Linked DNA regions of Homo sapiens: region 2 is linked to region 1. The links are contacts of gene promoters, found by promoter capture Hi-C in blood cells and fetal thymus (Javierre and others, 2016). All regions are on one chromosome and are shown on one strand. The core of a region is centred on a gene start or on the middle of the fragment in contact, and the rest is flanking DNA. Distances in the headings are between cores, read along the strand shown.

Evidence for each region. Contacts are between HindIII fragments. The CHiCAGO score rates a contact against its expected background, and 5 or more counts as called.
Region 2: a contact is called between the fragment with the promoter of PDE7B-AS1 here and the fragment with the promoter of ALDH8A1 in region 1, in 2 of 17 cell types (naive CD8 T cells and total CD4 T cells). The highest score is 6.3, in naive CD8 T cells.

The regions. Positions count from the first base shown.
Region 1 is chr6:134,946,365-134,951,911 of GRCh38, forward strand. ALDH8A1 (aldehyde dehydrogenase 8 family member A1) reads right to left here and starts at 3,737. Exons shown (of 7, transcript NM_022568.4): 1 at 3,552-3,737. The coding sequence starts at 3,689. The HindIII fragment of the contact is 9,755 bases long and covers 1,825-5,547 here.
Region 2 is chr6:136,070,705-136,075,962 of GRCh38, forward strand. PDE7B-AS1 (PDE7B antisense RNA 1) reads right to left here and starts at 2,123. Exons shown (of 4, transcript NR_149042.1): 1 at 1,845-2,123; 2 at 491-591. All of the region lies in intron 2 of PDE7B (phosphodiesterase 7B), which reads left to right. The HindIII fragment of the contact is 8,353 bases long and covers 1,864-5,258 here.

The sequences.
Region 1 (5,547 bases), core at 2,487-4,986:
AGTCAATGTAAAAATCTGGTCTTTTTGCTATTCAGAAAATTCAAGTCCACTCATATTTTCTAAGTTGCCTTATAGCACAACTTATGTCCATGTAATATAGAATACATATTAATGTACTACATACAATAATATTAGCATAAGTTAATACATAGAAAGCATTTACTATATGCCAAGCACTAAGGGCTTTAAGCATATTAGTCAGTTTAATCCTCAGAATAACACTATAAAGTAGATATCATTATTATCCTCATTTTATAGATGAGGAGACTGAGGCATGCAAAAGTTCAGCTCTAAGTCAAAGCCATAGATACCAAGTGGTGCAGCTTGTATTTGAACCAGGCAGTCTGACTCTAGTATGTGCTTATAACTGCAATGCTATAATGCAAATGTGCTATGCACACAGGTGCGCATGTGTGCGCGCGCGCACAGGTGCGCATGTGTGCGTGCACGCACAGGTGCACATGCCCATGGATCTAAGCATCAGAGATGAGAGTGTTAGTACTGTCCTCTGTAAAATAAGGATCATAATAGAGACTTCTAAGTTGTTACAACTCGCTTCTTTGGATAATCTATATTAAAGGGCTTACTGATTGCACACTACCAGACTTTAAAATATACTACAAAGCTATAGTAACCAAAGTAGCATGGCACTGGTGTAAAAACAGACACATAGACCAGTGAAACAGAATAGAGAATCCAGAAATAAATCCATGCATTTACAGCCAACTCGTTTTTTACAAAGCTGCCAAAAATATGCATTGGTGAAAACATAGTCTCTCCAATAAATGGTGCTGGGAAAACTGGATAACCATATGCAGAAGAATGAAACTAGACCCCTATCTCTCACCAAAACAAATCAAAACAGATTAAAGACTTAGATAGATGTAAGACCCAAAACTATGAAACTACTATAAGAAAACATAGGGTAAATACTTCATGACACTGATTTGGGCAAAGATTTTTTTGGGCAAGACCTCAAAAGCACAGGCAACAAAAGAAAATAAATAAACAAAATAAAATAATATCAAGCTAAAAAGCTTCTGCACAACAGAAGAAACAGCAGAGTTAAGAGGCAACCTACAGAATGGGAGAAAATATTTGCAAACTATCCATCTGACAAGGGATTAATAACCAGAATATATAAGGAGCTTGAGCTTGTATATATACATATACAACTCAATAGCCACCGCCCAAAAAATCCAATTTAAAAACGGGCAAATGATCTAAAGAGATATTCCACAAAAAGAAGATGTACAAATGGCCAACAGGTATATAAAAAATGCTTAACATCACTAATTATTAGGGAAATGCAAGTCAAAACCACAACGAGTTATTATCTCATCCCAGTTAAAATGGTCATTATCAAAAAATAAGAAATAAAAAAGGCTGGTGAAGCTGCAAAAAAAAAGGGAAGACAAATACAGTGTTGGTGGGAAAGTAAATTAGTGCAGCCATTATGGAAAACGCATGTAGGTTTCTCAAAAAAAAAAAAATAAAAATAGAACAACAGTATGATCCAGCAATCCCACTACTGGAAATTTATCCAAAGAAAAGGAAATCAGTATACTGAAGAGATACCTGTACCCCCATATTTGTTGAAGCACTATTTACAATAGTCAAGATATGGACTCAACCTAATGTCCATCAACAGCTGAATGGATAAAGAAAATATGGTATATATACACAATGGAATATTATTCAGCCATAAAAAGGAACAAAATCCTGTCATTTGCACCAACACGATTTGAGCTGGAGGATATTACGTTAAGTGAAGTAAGCAAGGCACAAAAATACAAATATTACATGTTCTCACTCATATGTGGAAGCTTAAAAAAGTTGATCTCATGGAGGTAGAGAGTACAATTATGGTTACCAGAGGCTGGGAAGGGTAGAGGAGAGGATAGAGGTTGGCTAATTAATACAAAAATATGGTTAAAAGGAATAAGTTCTAGTAGAGTGACAATAGTTAACAATAATTTATTGTATATTTCACAATAGTTAGAAGAAAAGATTTGGAATGTTCCCAACACCAAGAAATGATAAATGTTTAATGTGATGGAGATCCTAATTACCCTGATTTGATCATGACACATTGTATGCATGTATCAAAATGTCACATATGCCCATAAAGATGTACAATTATTATGTATCAATTTTTTAATTTTTTGTTAAAAAAGGGCTTAATGACTGCAAAGCACAAAGCAAAAGTTGAATAAACGGGAGCCACTGTTAGCAGCACCAGCAACATTTTCCTGAGTGATGTTTTGGAAATTGGACATGCAGTTTGTATGGTAACCATATTTTTCAAGCCGGAAAAAACTATGACTTATGGGATCAGATAGGATATTTGGAAGTTGGATTGCTGAGAAACTGAACATATCTATTACTCTACTAGCTAGCGCATCCATAGCTCATTCTATTTTCTAAAAAGTTATGAGCCATTAGCTGCAGGAAATATTTCAGCTGAATTTGGCATGTTTGTCATTTTTAACTTCACTTTGGCAAACAAGGAAGAGTGGAAAACACAAAGCTGGATTTCCCAGAGCTGTGTTAAGTCATTTGAAGCAAACAAAATTGCAGTTTATAATTTAACCAATGCATTAACCAACATTTGCAAACATTAATCCCTAAGTCTGAAGGTTTACTTTAAATGCAAGACAGATTTGAAGTATTAACAAAAAAGAAAAAAAATAGCAATGTTCTTAAAAAAAAACTTTGCATGGAATATATATTTTTATAGGAAGACTATATTTTAAATAATCTAGTTATTTGTGCCTTAAAAAGAATAAATTATAATTCATAAGGCATTAGATGACTATATATACATCAGCTACATTTACCACTTCAGATATATTTACATTCTCAGTGCAATAATTGATAGCTAATCAAATATATCTCAAATATTTTACAAAATTCTCCAAGTAAAATTAATTCTACATCACCAAAAAAATGTAATGCATATGCCATTAAACACTTTGGATAAGAAAAAAGACGCTGTTAAATCTAACTCCAAAAATATATGGGAATTTGATTTTGAGTTTCATCATTCAAATGATTGATTTTATTTTACTAGGTATTTTGAAGACATGACAAATTATGAGAAGACAATCTAAAACAAAGCCCACAGTTTTTTGCTTGTTTGTTTATTTTAGTAAAGCTATACTTTTTTTTTAATTCCATGGATATAGTGGTAAATTTAAGCAGTGCGTGGTGGAGAAAAGGGAATATTTAACAAAGTGATAGCTCTTACAAATAATACTTTGTACTAGACACTGATTAGGAAATGTTTGAGAATTGCAAAAAAAAACTGCACACAGGGCTGTGTTAGGTTGGCTAGAAAAATGACTTACTTTCTGCATATAGGAAGAGATTTGTTCTAGGTATCATACAGTCCAGTTACAAGGTACATCTTCTGAGAACTAGAATCTTCCTTCTATCATGTTTAACAATCCTACATCTTCCCCCAACTCCCTCTGCTTTTAGAAAACTGTTACCCATAATTGGCCAACATATTAAACACATTTCAGTCTTCTTTAAGTGCATATACTCACCTCGTCTTTTCCACTATTTGGCACTCTGCAATACACTTCCCCTGTTGATGGGTCGTAAGAATCTATATATGAGCTACAAGGTAAAAATTTTCCATCTATGAAGTTTTCCAGCATCAAAAGTGCGTTTGTTCCAGCCATAGCAAGGAAAAATTCTGCCTTTCCTCTTTACGACTGAGCACTCAGGTTGTCCCCACCACTGTCTGGACTCCTGAGTGAGCCTCCCCCTTCCCAGCCCCCATCTTCCCCTTTACCAATCAGTGAATGTGGGAGGGCACCTGACGCTCTCAGAGAGCATTCCAGTCTCCAAACTCAGAACTAAGAGAGTGGCTGAATGTTTCACAGACTTCTAGTACATTACCTGACATGGATAATTGTGTGTAAAAGTAACAGCTACTTACTTATGTGTTCATAGCCCTTTAAATCATCAGAAGGCATCTGTGCATGTGATTTTATTGGGTTCACACCGTAAACTGTTCATTGCTCAAACACTGATTGGATGCCAGGCCCCAAAGCAAGTCCTTTACATGAATTTACTCGTTTATTCCACACAACAATCCTATATGAAGTAACCATTACTTCCTCTCTTTTATAGAAGAAACTGAGCCTTGGAGAGGTTAGACCATTTTTCCAAGGTCACATAGTTAGCAGGGGATGAACTGTAGCCCTTTAATCTCCAAATCATATACTTTTTCCTCAATGCATCACTGCTTACCCTGCAGAGGTAACTGAAGACAGATGCCCTCTTTCCGTGGCTCATCTGTGTTTCTTTACCTTGGCTGCCCTCTCTTGGAAGAGCTGTCTCTCCATCCCAAAACCGGGGCCACAGTGGCTGCTCACATCTTCCTAGATGTGCCATGGAGATAAAGACAAGCCAAAAACATGTGTGACACATATAGCAAGGGCTTCAGATCCCTGATGTAGCTGAGAATTTCTACAAATTGGTAAGAGAAATGAGCACCCCAACAGAAAAGATAAGCAAAGATACAAAAAAGCAATCCATAGGAAAAGGAACACAATTGGCTAATGAATATATTAACAATGTTCAGCCTTGTTGTTAAGCAAGGAATGTGAAATACAGAGGTGGCCTGATTTGCCAATCATACTGGAGAGCATTTTTAAAGATTGAGAACATCTACTCTGTGAGGATGTGGAGAATCATCCCTAGTCCATAGGCGGGAGGGTTCACAGAACACTGCTTGGGGCAATTTGTCAGGGTCTGGTCAATTTCTCTTCTAGGAATCTCTCCTACAGAATTACGTGCTCATGAACAAGTACATAAGTCACAGGACATCCTTTTTTATCATAATTTAAAAATCAAAACAACCTAAAGTCCATCAATTGGAGAATATTAGAGTATAATTGTTATATTCTTAACAGGGAATACTACTTAGACATTAGAAGGATGCATTGTTAAGTGAAAAAATAAAACTAGTGAATAATATATACAGCATAGTTTCTTTGGCTATTTACATGGTTGACAGGAAGCCGTTTTAAACTGCTTGGATATTTTATGGCAAGCCTATATTACTTTTATAATTATGATTTATAGTTATAATTCAGTTGAAGGTTAGGTACCAATATTCTAAAATTCATTGATCACATGAGGGCACTTGCTGGCCGTGCACCTCCTTAGGCCCTCTCTGCTTCCATCTTTATTGGTCTCTAGATATTCTCCAAAATTCTTGCTGAGACTTCTGACAAGCATGGTGTGGCTGATTCTGGGAGGCCCAGAGCAGCTGGAGTCTGGAGCTGGCGCCGTTGCCTGTCGCTGGAGAGTCGCTGACAGGGACTGGAGACAGAAGGTAGTCTCAGGCTTTTTCTGGTGCTGCCCACGGTCAGGTCAGCTGGAAACAGAATGAGAGAAATACGCAGGTCCCAGCCCTGGCACCACAGAGTGAAGTACCAAGAAGTGAGCTTGGTGCTGAGAGACAGTGAGTACCACCCGGTGTGTGCATAAAGACTTCTGTAGCCCATCTTCCTGGGTCTCCAACAACTC
Region 2 (5,258 bases), core at 873-3,372, 1.1 Mb after region 1:
TAAATGTATTGTTAATAATTTGCAACATATTGACTTTTTTATTATGACCAAACTAAAATACCATAATAGATTGATTTTCTTACGTGATAATAACAGCAAAGATTTGAATCAAAAAAATCTAAAGTCAGTATAAAACAAACTACTTGGGCTTACGTAGGAACCAAACCCAAACTCTTGTCCAAATGAACAATTGAAATTCCTGTTGAGGTTTTGAAAAATCTCCACCACCCCATCAAGTGCCCTACTTTTCATGCAGCTCAACACTTCCAAACAGAGCCAGCATGAGGAGCCCTGAGATCCCTGTGGTCGGCCCTTTCCCAAGTATTCCAAACCCACGCCTGGACCAAGAAGCTCCAGGAATCTCATCAGAAGCCTTGACTCCAGGAGGTTTCGAGTTAGATTTCCAAACCAGAGAGGTTTGGAAAAGAGCATGTTGAACCTTCGACCCACTCTTGACTTGCCCATCTGTATTTCAGTTACAGGCACTCACCTAAGAGTACTGACTTCTCTCATGACAGCTGCATAGTTAATGTGCCATTTCCACTGTAAGAAACTTGGCTGGGGCCAGTCAAGATGGTTCAGTTTAACAACCTAATAAATATATTGAAAATAACCAGTGAAAACAAAATTACAGAGACTGCCTTGTAGCTCAGCTGCCATCGTCTCTGTAGCCAACCTCAGCCTTCACCTCAGCATTGCACAAAGTTCAGAATCACTAACATATCAGAAAGGTTGGACAAGAGGAAAAGTAAACTGGAAACACACACACACGTGTGTATACATAAGTTTAATTCTGAAGTATTGAGAATTTTATTTTCAAAGTGCTAGAAAGGCAACAGAGAGATAGTTCATTTCACCATTACAGAAACACCAAGAAATTATAAACTTCTCTGGATGTCAGTTTTCTTACTGGAAAAATTATGTTAAAATTATATCACTCTAGCCAAGTGTAGTGGTGCATGCCTGTAGTCCCAGCTACTAGGGAGGCTAAGGTGGGAGGATCGCTTGAGGCCAAAAGTTCGAGGCTTCACTGAGCTATGATCACACCACTGCACTCCAGCCTGGGCAACTGAGCAAGATTCCACTCAATAAATTAATAAATGAGTGCAGCATTCTAATGTTTTAAGGATTAAATGACATGATCATATAACAATGCCTAACAAGGTACACAGTGCAGTAACAAGTAAATGTATTTTAGCTTTTTTCCTTGGTTTCCATTAACATTTTTTTCCTTCAGTTAGTCATTCTAAAAATATTTATTAAGCATCTATTATGTTTTAAGAATTAAATGAGGTGACCCTACAACAGTGCCTTAAAAGGTACACAGCACAAAAACTAAATATATTTTAGCTTCTTCCCTCAGTCCCCTTTAACATTTTTTTCATTCAGTCAGTCATTCTACAAATATTTATTGAGCATTTATTATGTAGCAGGCATCATAATTTGTCTTGAATATATAATGGCAAATACAATAAACACAGTTCCTGCCCTTAATGGGGAAAACAGAAAATAAATAGGCGGGGAGGCGAGGAGAGAGAAAGACAAATCGAAATTGTCCTAAGTTCTGTGAAGGACCTAAACAGGGTACAGGGAGAGGAAATGGTGGGAGAGGGGCACCTGGTTAGATAGCTCATGGCATAGCTGATACTTTAATTTTGTTTTTTAAGTAGAGATGAGTTCTTGCTGTGTTGCCCAGGCTGCTCTTGAACTCCTGGGCTCAAGCGATCCTCCTGCCCTGGCCTACTAAAGTGCTGGGATTCTGGGTGTAAGCCACCTTGCCCAGCCCTGTTTATTTTTCTATTGATCTTAAGAAAGAAAAAGATGTCTTCTAATAACTATTTTACCTTAATCAGTTTTAAGACAAGCTTTGCAGAGCTCCATGACCCTCTGAAGAGACCGTGGCCACCTTGTAGGTTAGAGTATTTCGGACAGATGGCTGTACTACTGAGAGCTTTTCTGGACATGGCCGTTCTGGCTAACTTTCATCTTGTCATTACATTTCCTTTTCTGAGAAAGGTTGCAAGGGTGGTTTTGACAGAGTGATGCTGTTGGTATTTAGAATCCTGACTTTCTTGATCCTTTTCGGTGGAGCTGCGGGACACATGTGCGATGGAAACTGGCCTGGTTGCCATGGTGGATAGTGTTCTGACAACAGTCACATGGGTCAGGTGTCCGTTTTGGATCTTTCAGGCCTGTCAGCAGCTCCTGATAAAGCTAGCCATGTGGTTTTTCTTGGCTCACCTGTATATCCTGGTAGGAACAGCTAAGAGCCACTCAACGCACCCTTCTCTTTTTGGAGAAACCCCAGGGAGTTGTGTTGCTTGGGGCTGGGCCGCTTGGAGACCATGTTCTTTGTCTTTTTGGCCTGCTCTCGGGGCTAAGGAGCATTGATGGAATATCTGAGATGGTGGCGTCGGCAGGGATGGCCATGCTGAAGTCTGTTCATATCACACAACTAGGGCCACAAGCAAAGTCCTCCATCTGAATGACATTCAGGGACAGTCCATAAACTCAACGTGTGCACAGAGTGCCTCCGTACGCCATGCATTGTGACAGGTCCTGGGGTAACAGATCTGAAAGACTCCTTCTTTGTGTGTAAAGAACATGATTGGGTTAATTAAGTAAAAGTGAATATTTTCTTTACTGAGTCATAAAATTACGGGCATATGTCTTAATCAGCTAAGGCTGTCATAACACAGCACCATAAACTCAATGGCTTAAACAACAGAAACTGATTTTCTCACAGTCTTACAGGCTGAAAGTCCAGGATCAAGGCATCTGTGGAGTTGGTTTCTTCTGAGGCCTCTCCCCTCGGCTTGTAGATGTCACTTCTATGGTCTTCCCTCTGGGCCTGTGTCCTAATTTTCTCTTCATACAAGTGCACTAGTCATAATGGATTAGGGCCTACTCCAGTGGCCTCATCTAACTTAACTGCCTTTTAAAAGACCCCATCTCCATATAGGTCACATTCTGAGGTGCTTGGGTTAGGATTTTAACATACGAATTTGGCAGGGGACACACTCTAGCCCATAACAGCATTTTTACAGCCACACATAGTAAAAATCTGGAAATACACCACCACATGTATCAGAGTATAAGTGGCAAAGGTTGATCATGATACGTATCTCTCAGTTGAGAATTTCAGCGTGATTTCTAAAAACTTGTTGTGAAAGTACAATGCGCAGAAAACTGAAATTTCACCAAAAGTCCCATATCTGAAGCAAATAAAAAAATTTAGTTCCCATATTCTTTCCAATAGAAATAATTCCTTCGTGGAGAATTTATGCCTATCTCGTTCCTATGACAAAAAGGAATTTGGCCAGCCTGGCCAACATGGTGAAACCCTGTCTGTACTAAAAATACAAAAAAATGAACTGGGCACGGTGGCACACACCTGTAATCCCAGCTACTTGGGTAAAAGAATTACCTGAGGTAAAAGAATCATTTGAACCCAGGAGGTGGATGTTGCAGTGAGCCAAGATCGCACCACTGCACTCTATCCTGGGTGACAGAGAGACCTTGTCTCAAAAAAAAAAAAAGGCGGGGGGGATTTGGGGTTTTTTTGTTGTTTAAGGGTTTTTTAATTTTTAATTTTTGTGGGCACATAGTAAGGGTATATATTTATGGGTACATGAGATATTTTGATACAGGCATACAATGCATCATAATCGCATCAAGGTAAATGGGATATCTATCACATCAAGCATTTATTTCTTTCTTTGTGTTACAAGCAATCCAATTATACTTTTTAAGTTATTTTTAAATGTGTGATAAATTTTGTTGACTGAAGTCACCCTATTGTGCTATCAAATACTAGATCTTATTCACTCTATCTAATTATATTTTTGTACCAATTAACCATTCCTCCTTCCCACTACACTTCCCAGCATTTGGTAACCATCATTCTACTCCCTATCTCCATGAGCTCAATTGCTTCATTTTTAGCACTGACAAATAGGTGAGAATATATAAAGTTGATCTTTCTGTGCCTAGCTTACTTCATTTAATCTAACGACCTCCGAGTGAATCCATATTGTTGCAAATGACTGGATCTCATTCTTTTTTATGGCTGAATAGTACTCCATTGTGTATGTGTCCCACATTTTCTTTATCCATTCATCTGCTGGTGAACTCTTAAGTTGCTTCCGTATCTTGGCTGTTGTGAATAGTGCTGCTGTGCACATGGGAGTGCAGGGAGCTTTTCAATATACTGATTTCTTTTCTTCTGAATATATACCTAGAAGTGAAATTTCTGCATCATATGGTACAAAAAATAATTTAAGGGAATCTGGATTTCTTTTCTCTATGCAAGATCATTCAATTGTTTCCTCTAGTAAGGAAAAACTTCTGAAACAAATTCACAAAATTAATCAAGATTTTTGTTAATGAATAAAGTGTTCTCAAGCCACCGTCTCAGTCTGTCTTTCTGGGTGCTTTACCTACTGTCTTCTCTTGGGTGCTTTCCTTCTGACATAGCAAGAGCATATTTCAGACAATTGTAGACTCAAATATTTCAAAGCATTAAAGGAAAAAGGGGCATCTGAAAATTATCTTGATGTTCTCTGACAGCTCTAATACTATATAAATTATTACTAATGTACTAAGATTTCAAAGTGCTAGGCAAAGCGTCCCCAACCCACTGCAGATTCTCACAAAAAGGAAAACATGCTGAACTGTATTCCTTGGAGCTGTTGATGACTTCTCTTTGTACGTAATGAATGAGATGTTGTAGAAATAGCACAATCGCTGGAACACACTCAGGAATATGATGCTCCTCAGTCTCCCACACTTGATACCAAGGATCCTAGCTGTCCCATTGTCTACCTCAGCTGTAGGGGGTTTGTGTGCTCTAATTTGCCCTGGCACTGCTTTATCATTTAAAAACTTAGTTCTGGGTGAAGTGTGGTTGCATATTGCAATTCAGAGTGCCTTCAATGCATACTGTTTCATGGCCATCTCTTCTCCCTTGTTTCCCCTTCCCTTTTATTCTTTCCTTCTTCTTGGAGTCCCTCTTATTTGAGTGATCCCTGAAAAGGGTACTCACTGCTAAGAAGAACGACCTGGGTTACATAACAAGTCCTTACAGAACAATGCCTCAAGAGGAGGTACGGCTAGTCAAGGCACAGAAAGCAAAATCTAGCCCTAACGACATTACTCCTTTACCTAGGATCTTGATTATGTATCTCATTTTCTGTGACTTGACTTCTACATCTTTGCAGGGATGACATGTTTTGTCTCCATTTTTTATACGGCAGATA